Linked DNA regions of Homo sapiens: regions 1 and 3 are each linked to region 2. Evidence: promoter capture Hi-C in human tissues and cell types (Jung and others, 2019). All regions are on one chromosome and are shown on one strand. Each heading gives the region's core, a stretch centred on a gene start or on the middle of the fragment in contact. The rest is flanking DNA. Distances are from core to core; before and after follow the strand shown.

Region 1 (3,862 bases), core at 1,363-3,862, 620 kb after region 2:
CTTGGAGGTATATAGAACTCACCTTTTTAAAAAAAATCTGTGTAGCCATCACAACCATACGAGGCAGTTTAATACCATATTTAAGACATAGGTTTTGCAGTCAGAACATCTAGGTTTGAATCACAAGCATCCACCATGTAGATCTATACAACCTCAGGCAGCACTACATTAGCAATCTGTCTCAGGCTCCTCTTATATAACAGTTATTACCACCCACATCTCCTAGGTTTTTTATAGGGAAATGAACTATTAGAAATATATAAAACACAGGACATAAACATCCATTAAGTTATAGATCTTACTGTTATGAACAGCCTGTTTGAACCTAACACAATATAAATACAACAGAATCTAACACAATATAAATACAACAAACTGGTCAGCTGAAGATAATTATTTCATAGCAAAATAACAGTTACCAATTAAATGGTTTCAAAAGTTGAATGGAATTAGGATGAAATGAAACCAAAGAAAATTTCCAGAAAAGTTTAGGCAGACAGGGTGAGATGCTTAAGGTCACAAAAGCTAACCATTCCCCAAGCTATTATTTCTATACAGAAGTCACTGGAACACTCATTATAAACAAAATAAGCTGGGTCTTGGATAGCTAAGTATTAAGAAATAAAAATCATACAAAAGCCTAATATTAAAATAAAACTTGAGGCCAGACACAGTGGCTCTGTATCTATAATCCCAACACTTTGGAAGGAGGAGGGAGGATTGCTTGAGGCCAGAACTCTGAGGCTGCAGTGAGGTATGATCTTGCCACTGCACTCCAGCCTGGGCAACAGAGTGAGACCCTGTCTTTAAAAAGACTTATTTATTTCAATTCCTGCTAATCAAGGCAGAATATCTTTGTCAAGGTATGGAGATATTTTTACACAGAGTCAGTTATTATACAAACAAGGGCAAAAAAACAAGAAGAATGCTAAGTTGCTGCTTCTGAAGTATAAAATCTAGGTGATTTCAGATTTGGCTCCAAGGAGTATATTTGGTCTTTGATTATCTTTTTTCTCGCTGTGCTGTAGCACTTCCCCTGTCCGCTCAGCTGGGGAATGGAATGGGTGAGACCTGGAAAAGGTCTAACTATATTTTGTTAAATTTTCCCAAGTGAGGATTGCACCAGCAATGGCTCCCAAGATCTTAATTCTGCCCACCAAATAATGTCTCTTATATTAAGTTACTCTACAGTTCCTAAAAGGCCACTAGTAGACTACTGCCAAATGCAATACTCAATTCAACCAACATTCCAAGTAACAGCTAACACTTACACTGTACCTATCATGTGTTCTCAAAAACTCTATGAGGTTGTGACTAATAATTTATCCATTTTAATGATAAGGACACCGAGGCATAGAGAAGTTGCCCAATATTATCCAACTAGTAAGAGAGAAAGAGATCCGAAGGTAGGCAGAACAGCTCCAGAGTCTACTATTATCTAATTGGTTATATGGCAAACATCCATTAACCTAGAACTCTCATAAAGGAGTAATAATTACTAATTTCAACTTTGAACACAGTTTATTATTATTATTTAACCAACTCATTCATTAAAATCCAACCTAAAAGTTAGCTCTTCAAAAGTTTTTTTTCTAAGTCTCTCAGGCAGAATTCATGACATCACTAGATTTCAAAGTTAGTAACATCAGAAAGTCAGTTAGCAAAAAGCCTTGAATAATTCAAAACTCATTTGCTGTATGAACCCTATTTTAAATCTGTCTATGTATTTCACTAACGCCCTGGATTTAATTTTTGAACACCCTATAACTATCCCCCAACCAGCACCCACATATAAAAAGCTTATTTTAAAAAAAAAAAAAAAAAGCAAATAAAAACACTAGGTTCTGTTTTGTAACCCAGTTCATTTTTGTCCTTGGATAAAAATTCAAGTCAAATGAAATATGTCTGGATGAGTTCTCCTGGTTATCCTGTGTAATTTATTAAGTTGGAGAAAAGATACGTGGGGTGTGTGTGTGTGTGTGTGTGTGTGTGTGTGTGTGTGTGTGTATATAAATGTGTATATATATGTATATGTATATACATGTATGTATGTGTCTATATATATGTTTATACAAACTTAAACAAATTCAACATGTATAATTTAAACTGCATTATGACTTCATTTTAAAAATGCATTTCCAAGGAAAAAAAAGAAAAGAAACTGCCATTTCTGGCCAGTAGAGGAATGTAAGATTAAAAATTGGGACATCTGGTTTCCATGCGTTGAGGTTAAGAAGCTATTAACTAGCTCAATAAAATTAAATTGATTGCTAAATTTGAGTCCAATTTCTCACATAAGGAGAATTATTAGCTACTGACAACATTAACTTACTTTCCATTCCTACCTACTATCCCTCAAACAAAAGGAGTGTAGGGGAGTTGGAGAGAGCCACTTTACACATAAAAATTTTAAGACTGTAAACTTCCTTCAATACAGGCCTAGAATGGAATATGAATGACTATACATGGCAGAACTGTATTAATCCTGTTTGGAACCGTTCACTGTTAAATAACTTCTTTAAATGCAAAAAAGTTTCAGAATGAAAATATATTCTTTCTCCTTAAATTAAAAAGCATCTAGTAAGTAATTCAAGGTTGGCAATAATATCTACTATTTAGTTACCCATTTCCCATATATTTGAGTTTTCTTATTGGATCCTTCACAGATTCAGTGTGAAGACAGTCAAACCTGCTCCTCATTTCTAAATATCAGCACAGTATCTGAATCACATATCTTAAGAATACATTCTCCCTTCCAATGGTAAGATTTGAGGCATTCCTTTCTCTTAGCAATCCTTAAAATAGAGATGACAAATTAGGGTTACCAAATGACCCAGTTTGCCCGAGATAAAGGATTTCCTGGAACATAAGATGGTAAGTGCTAAACCAAAAACAGGTACAAAGCAAATTGGGTCGACTGATCAAACTATCACAAACTCAAATCCCTTCGAGAGCCAAGCCATGGTAACTAACATCTGTGAGTGGACAAGTGAATGGGTAACTGCAAAGCACATGTCCCAGTCTTAATGAGCAGTGTTTATTTCCATCTTTGGCTTAGAGAAGTTACTGAACCCATCTCATCCCAAACCTATGCTGACTTAATATTTTATTCATTTGTTTGATATTAATTATGAAGCATCACATGCCTTCATTAGCTTGATGTATTGGGTATCTGAGAAATTCAAGCAGTTTCATAAAGATTATATTAGACAAAACTCTCTCCATGAGGATCCCTAAACTTCAGTTCTATAGATAGCAAAAATTAAGTATAATGAACCACAGTCAAACACTGCTGTACCAACCCCTACTGGTTTCTGCTCTCTAAAGTATTACACCACCACTGCCAAGAAGTAGGGAAATAAATCACTGGGTTCTCAAGCTGGCCATGTTCCAAAGTTATTGCCCAATTCTCAATTGCAAGGTAATGATGGAACAATGGGCCTTGTGACACAAGCTTTTTCCTCTGCCAGTTAGATACTTACACTCTCTATTCCTCTGGCCAATTCAAAGAGAAGTGCCAAAGATTCACCAGCAGCTATTCTCATGTTTACATCATCACAAGAGAGGAGGCTTGGAAGCTTATGGAAATGCCTAAAAAATAGTTAGTCATTACTATGTGAATACAACCAATTATGTCCACTAAATGTTGCTTTTATAAAATATGAAACTAAAAATACATACATCTCAAGCTTTTTCTTCACTTCATTGATTGGGCATATGGTCAGCAGTAGTGTCCATGCAAGAAGAGAGCTGATATGAAGCACTGTATTAGGAGTGCTGCAAATAACAGTAGTGTCTTTCTCTTTGAGATAGGATTTAGTGAAGATATTTTCCAAACATTCCAGAGTTGAGTATAGTTCCT
Region 2 (3,947 bases), core at 803-3,302:
AAAAAGAAATTAGTTAAGACCAACTAAGCCTATGATCTAAACAATTTGAAGCAATAACTTTACATTTGAGAACTTGTAGATGATATGAAACTTTTGTCAGCTATTAAACATATTTTTTAAAGCCCTGCTGATGAAAGATGTAGCTTCCAATGTTTTCTCCAGTAGAGTTAATGAGCTAGATAGAAAATATCTCATTAATTTCTTGAGTCCCCTTGTGAGGCAAGAAAATGACATTCTTATCCAACAGCTGGAAAAGCTGAAGAATTAGTGGATGTAACTGTGCTCAACTGCAAAGGAAAAAAATAGCTTTACTATACCCTGAGATGTGGATATGAAAGAATATTGCATACACATATACCCTCTCCCTTATTTTTAAGGAATCAATATCTGCTTAAAGAATAAGACTAGTTAAAACCCTTGGATCTTGGCCCTATAACTTTTGGCAGAGTATATTACTGCTTCATGGCCTGGCAGTGCAGTGACTCTTTTAATTTACTTTAAAATAGCTTTTCCCTAATCTGTACAACCTAACATCTGACCAATCATGAATCTTCAGCAAACTTAAGCCTCTTATTCCATACATTTTTTAAAACTGTAAAAATTCAGGAAATAACTCTTTGCAAAGTACATTGAAGCATTTATTGGGAAGCAAAAAAGCACAAGTTGAAGTGATTTGTAGTTTCATAAAAACGAATTTGACATTTTACTTAGAAGTTGCAAACCACCACATGGTTTTGAGTTTTGAATTCATTTGCTTTGCAAAAAGTGGAATGTTTTATTTGAATGGAAATGCCCTCAAGTTACTTCCAGCATGGCTGTAGGATTGATTTTTCTAGGTTAAGGGAATGCCAAAGTTTAGTGCCTTGTGTATATTCTTTTCGAAAAAAACAAACTATTATCCATGTATTTAAATGGACGTAGGAAATTCAAGAACAAATCAGGGAAATTTAACATCATTTCAGTATTACCAACATAGGGCTTTGTGTAACGACTGTGACATCAAGATAAGGCTTTACCTCGGCTCATCCAATAGAAATACAGTATGTAAATTAACCCATATTATCTGTATGCTGATTGGCCTGAGTTCCCCTGAATGTCACAATCTCACCACCCAGCAATGAGGTATTTTACTGCTGTCTCAAGATCAGATTATTACTGTAGAGAAGATTTTTATTTTTTGTTTCATTAACAGATTATTATAAAGCAAAAAGCATGCAGAAAAAGAAGCAGACGTTTTACATTGGGAATTAATGAAAGCGTGTCTGCTAGTTTTGGGTAGGAGAACTGGGAAGTTGTTGCTTAAAATTTTATATCACCTCCACAAACAAAACTCTTCGGAAATGGTAAAATAAGAAAATGCATGATTCTAGAGGCATTCCTAAGCACCCACGTGTCAGGCTTTGTGGTGTCTGTGGTATCATCCGACCGTTTGGACTGGTGTAAGTTTTACGTATTTGTTATATTTCTAGTATTTTTCATCTGTAATAACAAAGGGGAAAAAAGGAAACTCGTACACATAACTGCTTTGACATCACCCATCATTGGTCAGCGGAACTTGTAAGAAGGGAAAAGGAATACTGTTGCTTGGTGGGGTGGAATGCCAGGAATAGCCATTTAAACATTTTATAAGCCTGATTCTTTAGTGACATCCTTTAAGGTAGACTGAATGTAAATCATATTGTAGTTGTCCTCTGAACTTAGCTTTCTCCCTACTTTTACGCATATTTGCGTGCATTGGAGAATAGAAGATGACTAACAAAGAGAGAGCTGCCCTAACGTGCCTTCCCTTCTTCCCCATTGAAAAGATTTTTAACTGTGGGAAAAAGATAAATAAATAAATAAATAACTTTTTTTCTTTTTTCCCATTCTTTTCTTGTCTTTTTCCAGCTAACCTGCAAATTTAAAGGTTAGCTGGAGACATCACTTAAAAATAAATATATAAAAGAAGCCTCCGGTGGTTTGGACCACCCTAAAAGAAAAGGGAAGAAAGTGTCTGGGGAAGGTTAGGGTTCCGGGAAGCTGAGGGAGGGGGCGGGCGTCACGGGCACTGTGACTTCCTCGTGCGCTGCCTTTGGGAAGAGGATGGGCCTGAGGTCCTGAAAGGGCCTTTCCAGCCCCCCACTACAAATGCGGGGAGGGAAAAGTTCAGAAGCAGCCACGAAGGGACAAAAGCTTAATGCTGCCAGTTGGATTGGACAGGGCAGTCAATAAACCCAGCCAGCTCTGGAGTCAGGTAGGGGTTCCTGCTGGTTCCACAGAGGCTGAAGCAGCCCCGCCGCCGCCCTCGCCACCGCAGCCGCCGCCGCCGCGGCCCCTGCGTTACTGGGGGAGACGGTGCCGCTGCGACAGGGGAGGACGCGGCTGGAGCTCAAGGAGGCTCCAGCGCGCAGGCGCCGCCGAGCCCTGCCTGGATGCTCAGTCAAGGCACTAAGGCAAAAAAAAAAAAAAAAAAAACAAAAAACAAAAAAAAAAAAAAAAAAAAGAAAAAGAAAAAAAGAAAAAAATCAGCAATTTATAGAAAGAAGCTATAGTCTGTCGGGATATCCAACACCAACAGGTAGGAGGATATACTCTTGGTTAAGTTTGGGGGATGTGGGGGAATGCACAGTGTTGATGAAACTGCAGGTTCACCGAGAAAGAGCCCTCCCTCAGGTTGTGTGTGTGTGTGTGTGTGTGTGTGTCTCTGTGTGTGTGTGTGTGTGTGTGTGTGTATGTGTTTTGTGACAATAAACTGCATAATGGAAGTACATTCAGACAATGCATCTTCAGTAGGGCTTACTGAGAGCTCCATTTCTGGAAAGCCTTACAAGACTGAGGAATATCAGACTGCGAATCACCGGGAACGGTTCCTTTGCAGCACAGAAGCAATCTCTCTCCCCATCTTCGCGTATGTAATGCATGTCTCTCTCCCTCTCCCCCTCCTCCACCCTCCCCCCATTATAAATCCAGGGGTGGCGGATTTCAGGTTTCGTAATGTTGCATGATGCGATCGGTATTTACCCGAGGATGTACCGGTGGGGAAATTAAAATCATCGAACGCAGTTTTGCCTGGGCTTCCACCAGCATATTCCGGGCCAGTGAGAAGTGGCAAAAGAAACACGCTTGGTGGGAATAACAGAGGAAGCCGATTTCCCTGGTGTGGTCCAGGCACCTGCGAGACAATGTGCATTTTGTTTTAAAAAGCAGCCACTTGTGATTTGCAACAAAGGTTATCAGTGTAAATGGGAAAGGCTTAATTGCCCAAGAAATACAGGTTCATGTTATATTCATTTGAATCCAGGCAGCCAAGGTTTACAAATGGAAGTGCATTATTCCTCTGGGTGTGTTTCCCTGTCCAATATTTACATTAACCATTTTAATAATCATGTGGGCTTAAAAGATTTGCCAGAAATGGGGGGTAGGGTGGAGAGGGAAAGACAAATGATTAAATCACATCAAATCTTGGGACAAGTAAGTTCCTATTAATTTTGAAGTTAATTTTGAAATTTTGCTTTAAGATGAATCAACAAATACTCTTATGCAGCATGAATAGTGGCACTTAAGATATATTTTGCACGGGTTCTTTGGACCCACATCAAACAGAGAAGCTGCCTGTGAAACACTGACAGATACTAATAGATCTCAAATAAATGTAGGTAGTGTCTCTGCCTCCTAATAGCAATCTTGTAGATTCCATTGCAATTCTAGTGGTTAATTCCTGGACTGGCATATTTTACAAGAATGGGACATTTTATTCCTTCTCTCCTAAAGTTACCCTATCAAATGTATATTGTCCAAAATAGGGACATTTTAAAATTCACTTAGCTTGAAAAACTAAACAAGCCAATTCTCTGAAATCTCGAGCAAAAATATTTAGTAAAGCAAATATTAGTATTCAAAATTAAAACTTTATTTGCTTCCCCATAAGTGAACAGCTTTGTTAGCACTGTCTGACATCATTGCTTGTT
Region 3 (3,996 bases), core at 1,188-3,687, 530 kb after region 2:
TTAATCCTCAATGTGACAGTATGAAGTGGGGCCTTTGGGAGGAGATTAGGTCATAAGAATGGAGGTCTCACGAATGGGATTAGTGCCCTTGTAAAAGAGTCCCAAGAGACCTAGTTCGTCTTTTCTACCATGTGAGAACACAATGAGAAGGTGCCATCTATGAAACAGGCCCTTGCCAGACATGGAATCTGCTGGTGCTTTGATCTTGGACTTCCCAGCCTCCAGAAATGTGAGAAATTACTGTTGCTTATAAGACACCTTGTTGATGGTATTTTGTTACAGCAGTCTGAACAGATTAATCATCCAGGTAATTTCTAAATTCTTCCAACATTTGTTAGAATCAAGATTTTTAGAGTCAAGGAGGACATTAGAGATTATTTGTTCAACTCCCATTTTAAAGGTTCAGCAAAACAGAGTGATTAGGACAAATCACAGTTTAGATAGTAGCAAGGTAGTGAACACAGTAGTGAACACAGTATGAATCATAATCTCTAAGACAGACGTGGTTTCCACTGTGCTATTTGAAATTGTGAGCTCCTTGTAGTAATAACACCCTAAAAGTACTATGATGTGAGCATCTGATCAAAAAGCAGAGAAATAGATTCATGGGTTCGCCTTGTTAATTACATATGGATACTCAAAAGACATCCACAATACCAGACTAGAAATCATTCATAGTGTGTAAAAGTAACATTCCAGGAGTGTACCAACCCGTTAGCTATTTTGTATATTACTTCTCCAGGACAGTCACCGCTATCATGGCTTTATTGTAAAAGGATACCGAATTCTAAAGGACTCTGGATTTAGAAGCTGCCTTTACACAGCTGGAGATAGCCTCAGTCTCCTGGTGTTTAAGCAAACCCAGTGAATTTTAAAAATTAATCTCATTTTATAATTCATCAACCAGCCACCAATTAAACAAACATATACCGAGTGCCTGTTATTGTCAGGAACTGTGTGAGATGCTGGGTTTACAGTGATAAATGTGATATAACTCCAGCTCTCAGGAACTCAGGATCTGGCAAGAATGCCCTAATGACATAGTCATGTGGTACAGCCATCTTGGAAGGCTAGCACAAGTAATTTGCTATTGATAAGAAAGTACTAAAGTTGGTGAAATGTTTACTTTTTAAAATTTGTTATAAAAAACAGATTATTATCCTTATAACTTTGTAGTCATTTACTGTCATTGTGATATACATTATTTAGCAGGAATAAAAGGGCTAGAGTTACAAATCATAAACTACAAATAATCCACACACTATCTTGTCTTTGCTACAGCTCACCATCTGGGTAAATCAATGGGGGTGTGTCAGCAAATAAAAATTATCTATAACATGTCCAAGTAGGAAAAAGTTGACAAGCATGAGTCCAGAGGCCAATGGGAGAGGGAGACACACAGATAAGCAATAATTACAAGATAGACTGTTAAGTGCTATAATAAGCACTTGGTATATGCATAGGAAGCTGTCAGCATGCAGAGTATCTAATATAGTCTTAGGGGTAAAAGAGAAAACTATGCAGATAGGAGAGGGTGGGGTTAGGGTCAGAGGAAACCATACGAGATATAGCTAATATGGGATAAGACTGATCAAGGTGGGCAGAAACAGGAGCTGAATTGGGACAGCTTAGGCAGAGCACCGGCTGGGGACCTGGGTCTCATACATCTTAAAGCAAAACAGAATTTGGAGTTTGAGCTCTCAAGTTAAACTGGAGAAACCTGGCAAAGCTCACAGTCCAGTACACAGGCTGCAGTCAACTTCCAGAGGTACAAGGACAGCGGGGGCCAGTCAGGCTGCACAGCACAGGCAAAAGCATGGTGGCATGGGTCAGAGGTCAATATTTGGGCTCAGCATTTGGAGAAATAATCTGGAAAGAGAGTCTCTGCAACCATGAGAACACGCAGGACCACAGAGCAGCAGGGGCAGGGTATAAGTGTGAGGCCAAGATAGGCCTGTCTGACCTGTGCTCTTGCAATAAGCTCTGATTTGGGTATGGTATGTGGAAGATAAGGGCTAGCAAGTGTGTGCAGCTCCAGAATCAAGCAAGTAGAAGATGTAGAATAAAAATAATACAGTGGGCAGGTGCGGGTGGCTCATGCCTGTAATCCCAGCACTTTGGGAGGCTGAGGCAGGCAGATCACGAGGTCAGAAGATCGAGACCATCCTGGCTAACACGGTGAAACCCCGTATCTACTAAAGATACAAAAAAAAAAAAAATAGCCAGGCGTGGTGGCGGGCACCTGTAGTCCCAGCTACTTGGGAGGCTGAGGCAGGAGAATGGCATGAACCCAGGAGGTGGAGCTTGCAGTGAGCCAAGATTGCACCACTGCACTCCAGCCTGGGGGACAGAGCGAGATCCTGTCTCAAAAAATAATAATAATAATAATAATAATAATAATAATAATAATAATAATAATACAGCAATATCCCCGCCACTGAAAAGCTGCCTAATAAAGGAGAAAGAAACAGGTAAGCAAACAAGCTCTAGAGATGCTGTGACAGAGCTTGTACAGGTGTAGAAGAGTGCAAAAGAGGAAGTGGTTGATTCAGCCTGGCAAGAAAGCCTTCATGACACATTCATGTGGTTGCATAAAGTTTTGAAATGTAGGTGACTAGTGACTAGACTTGGAAGATGAGTAGGTGTTTGCTTGGCAGACCTCAGAAGAAAAGGGCCACTGGGAAAGACATTCTGACCAAAGGAAGCTGCAGCATGAGCAGGAGTCAGTTGCACACATGGAGCAGTCTGGAGCATCAGGGACAGTGTCTTAGTTCATTTGTGTTGCTATAGAAGAGTACCTGAGGCTGGGTTATTACAAAGAAAAGAAGTATATTTGGCTTACAGTTCTGCAGGCTGCAAAAGAAGCATGGCACCAGTATCTGCTCCTGGTAAGGCCTCAGGAAGCTTCCAATCATGGCAGAAGACAAAGTGGGAGCAGATTTGTCACATGGCAAGAAAGGAGGAGGAGAAGGAGAGGGACAGAGATTGAGAGAGGGAAGGAAAGTGCTATGTTCTTTTTAACAATCAGATCTCATGGGAACTAACAGAGCAAGAGCTCACTCATTACCTCAATGATGGCACCAACCCATTCATAAGGGATCCACCCTCATGATCCAAACACCTCCCACCAGTCCTCACCTCTAACAATGGTGATCAAATTTCAACATAAGATTTGGAGGACACAAATATTCAAACTCTATCAGTTAGCGTGTGGACAAAACATTGAGTCAGGATGGACTTCATAATTTGTGGAGTACAGTGCGGAGAGATTTTTGAGCCTGAGACTCTGCACAGAGGGCAGAGTGGAGTGGGACTAGTTTAGATTTTATTGTGTAAGTCACTAAAGTTATTTTAAATTTTCATTTAACAGCTTTATTGAGATATAATTCACATACCTATGATTCACCCATTTAAAGTGTACAATTCATTGATTTTTAGTTTATTTACACATATGTGGAACCATCACCAGTCCATTTTAGGTTTTCATCATGTCAAAAAGAAATCTCACAGCCTATGTCTTCCACTAGCCCTAAACAACCACTAGCCTACTTTGTCTCTATAGATTTATCTGTTCTGGACATTTGTTCTGTGTGGGAAATGCACGAGGGGAGAAGAAAAGACACAAAAACAATATGTTTAGGGGTAAACAACCTTTATCCCATGTAAATGGCAATGCAGATATAATAAGCAAATGATATAATAAGCAAATTGCAATGGGAAGGGGAGAAGGAAAAAGATATATATATATTTACACTAAATATATGTATTATATATATATTTACACTCATCAGACTATGGAGGATTCACCACCAGACTGGGAAGCAACAGCCTGGGCTCCAGAGTTGGCCTCCCGTCCGTGCACAGACAAGGAGAGGTCTCATGAAGCTTCGGTGCAGTCTGGGACCCTAACTCTTTTTGTAACTAGTTGTTTGGCATGAGGCCCAGCCATGAGGGCCCTTCACGACTGGGCTCAAGGAACAAAAAAGGTCAACTTGT

What was found. The method cuts DNA at HindIII sites, captures the fragments that hold promoters and counts their contacts. A contact is called where the count stands out against the background at its distance.
Region 1: a fragment that was not itself captured here is called in contact with the fragment with the promoter of GPR85 in region 2 in 1 of the 25 tissues and cell types used here (hippocampus).
Region 3: a fragment that was not itself captured here is called in contact with the fragment with the promoter of GPR85 in region 2 in 1 of the 25 tissues and cell types used here (spleen).

Annotation. Positions count from the first base shown.
Region 1 is chr7:112,461,999-112,465,860 of GRCh38, reverse strand. IFRD1 (interferon related developmental regulator 1) reads right to left here. Exons shown (of 12, transcript NM_001550.4): 7 at 3,682-3,860; 8 at 3,483-3,591. Among named protein-coding and RNA genes, the nearest start is that of IFRD1, 13 kb to the right of the region's middle. The HindIII fragment of the contact is 4,639 bases long and covers 293-3,862 here.
Region 2 is chr7:113,084,932-113,088,878 of GRCh38, reverse strand. It overlaps GPR85 (G protein-coupled receptor 85), which reads left to right and starts at 2,052. Exons shown (of 3, transcript NM_001146267.2): 1 at 2,052-2,557; 2 at 2,770-2,887. RefSeq lists a silencer at 2,307-2,366. The HindIII fragment of the contact is 9,773 bases long and covers 1-3,947 here.
Region 3 is chr7:112,555,450-112,559,445 of GRCh38, reverse strand. No RefSeq gene overlaps it. Among named protein-coding and RNA genes, the nearest start is that of LINC03076, 61 kb to the left of the region's middle. The HindIII fragment of the contact is 4,517 bases long and covers 179-3,996 here.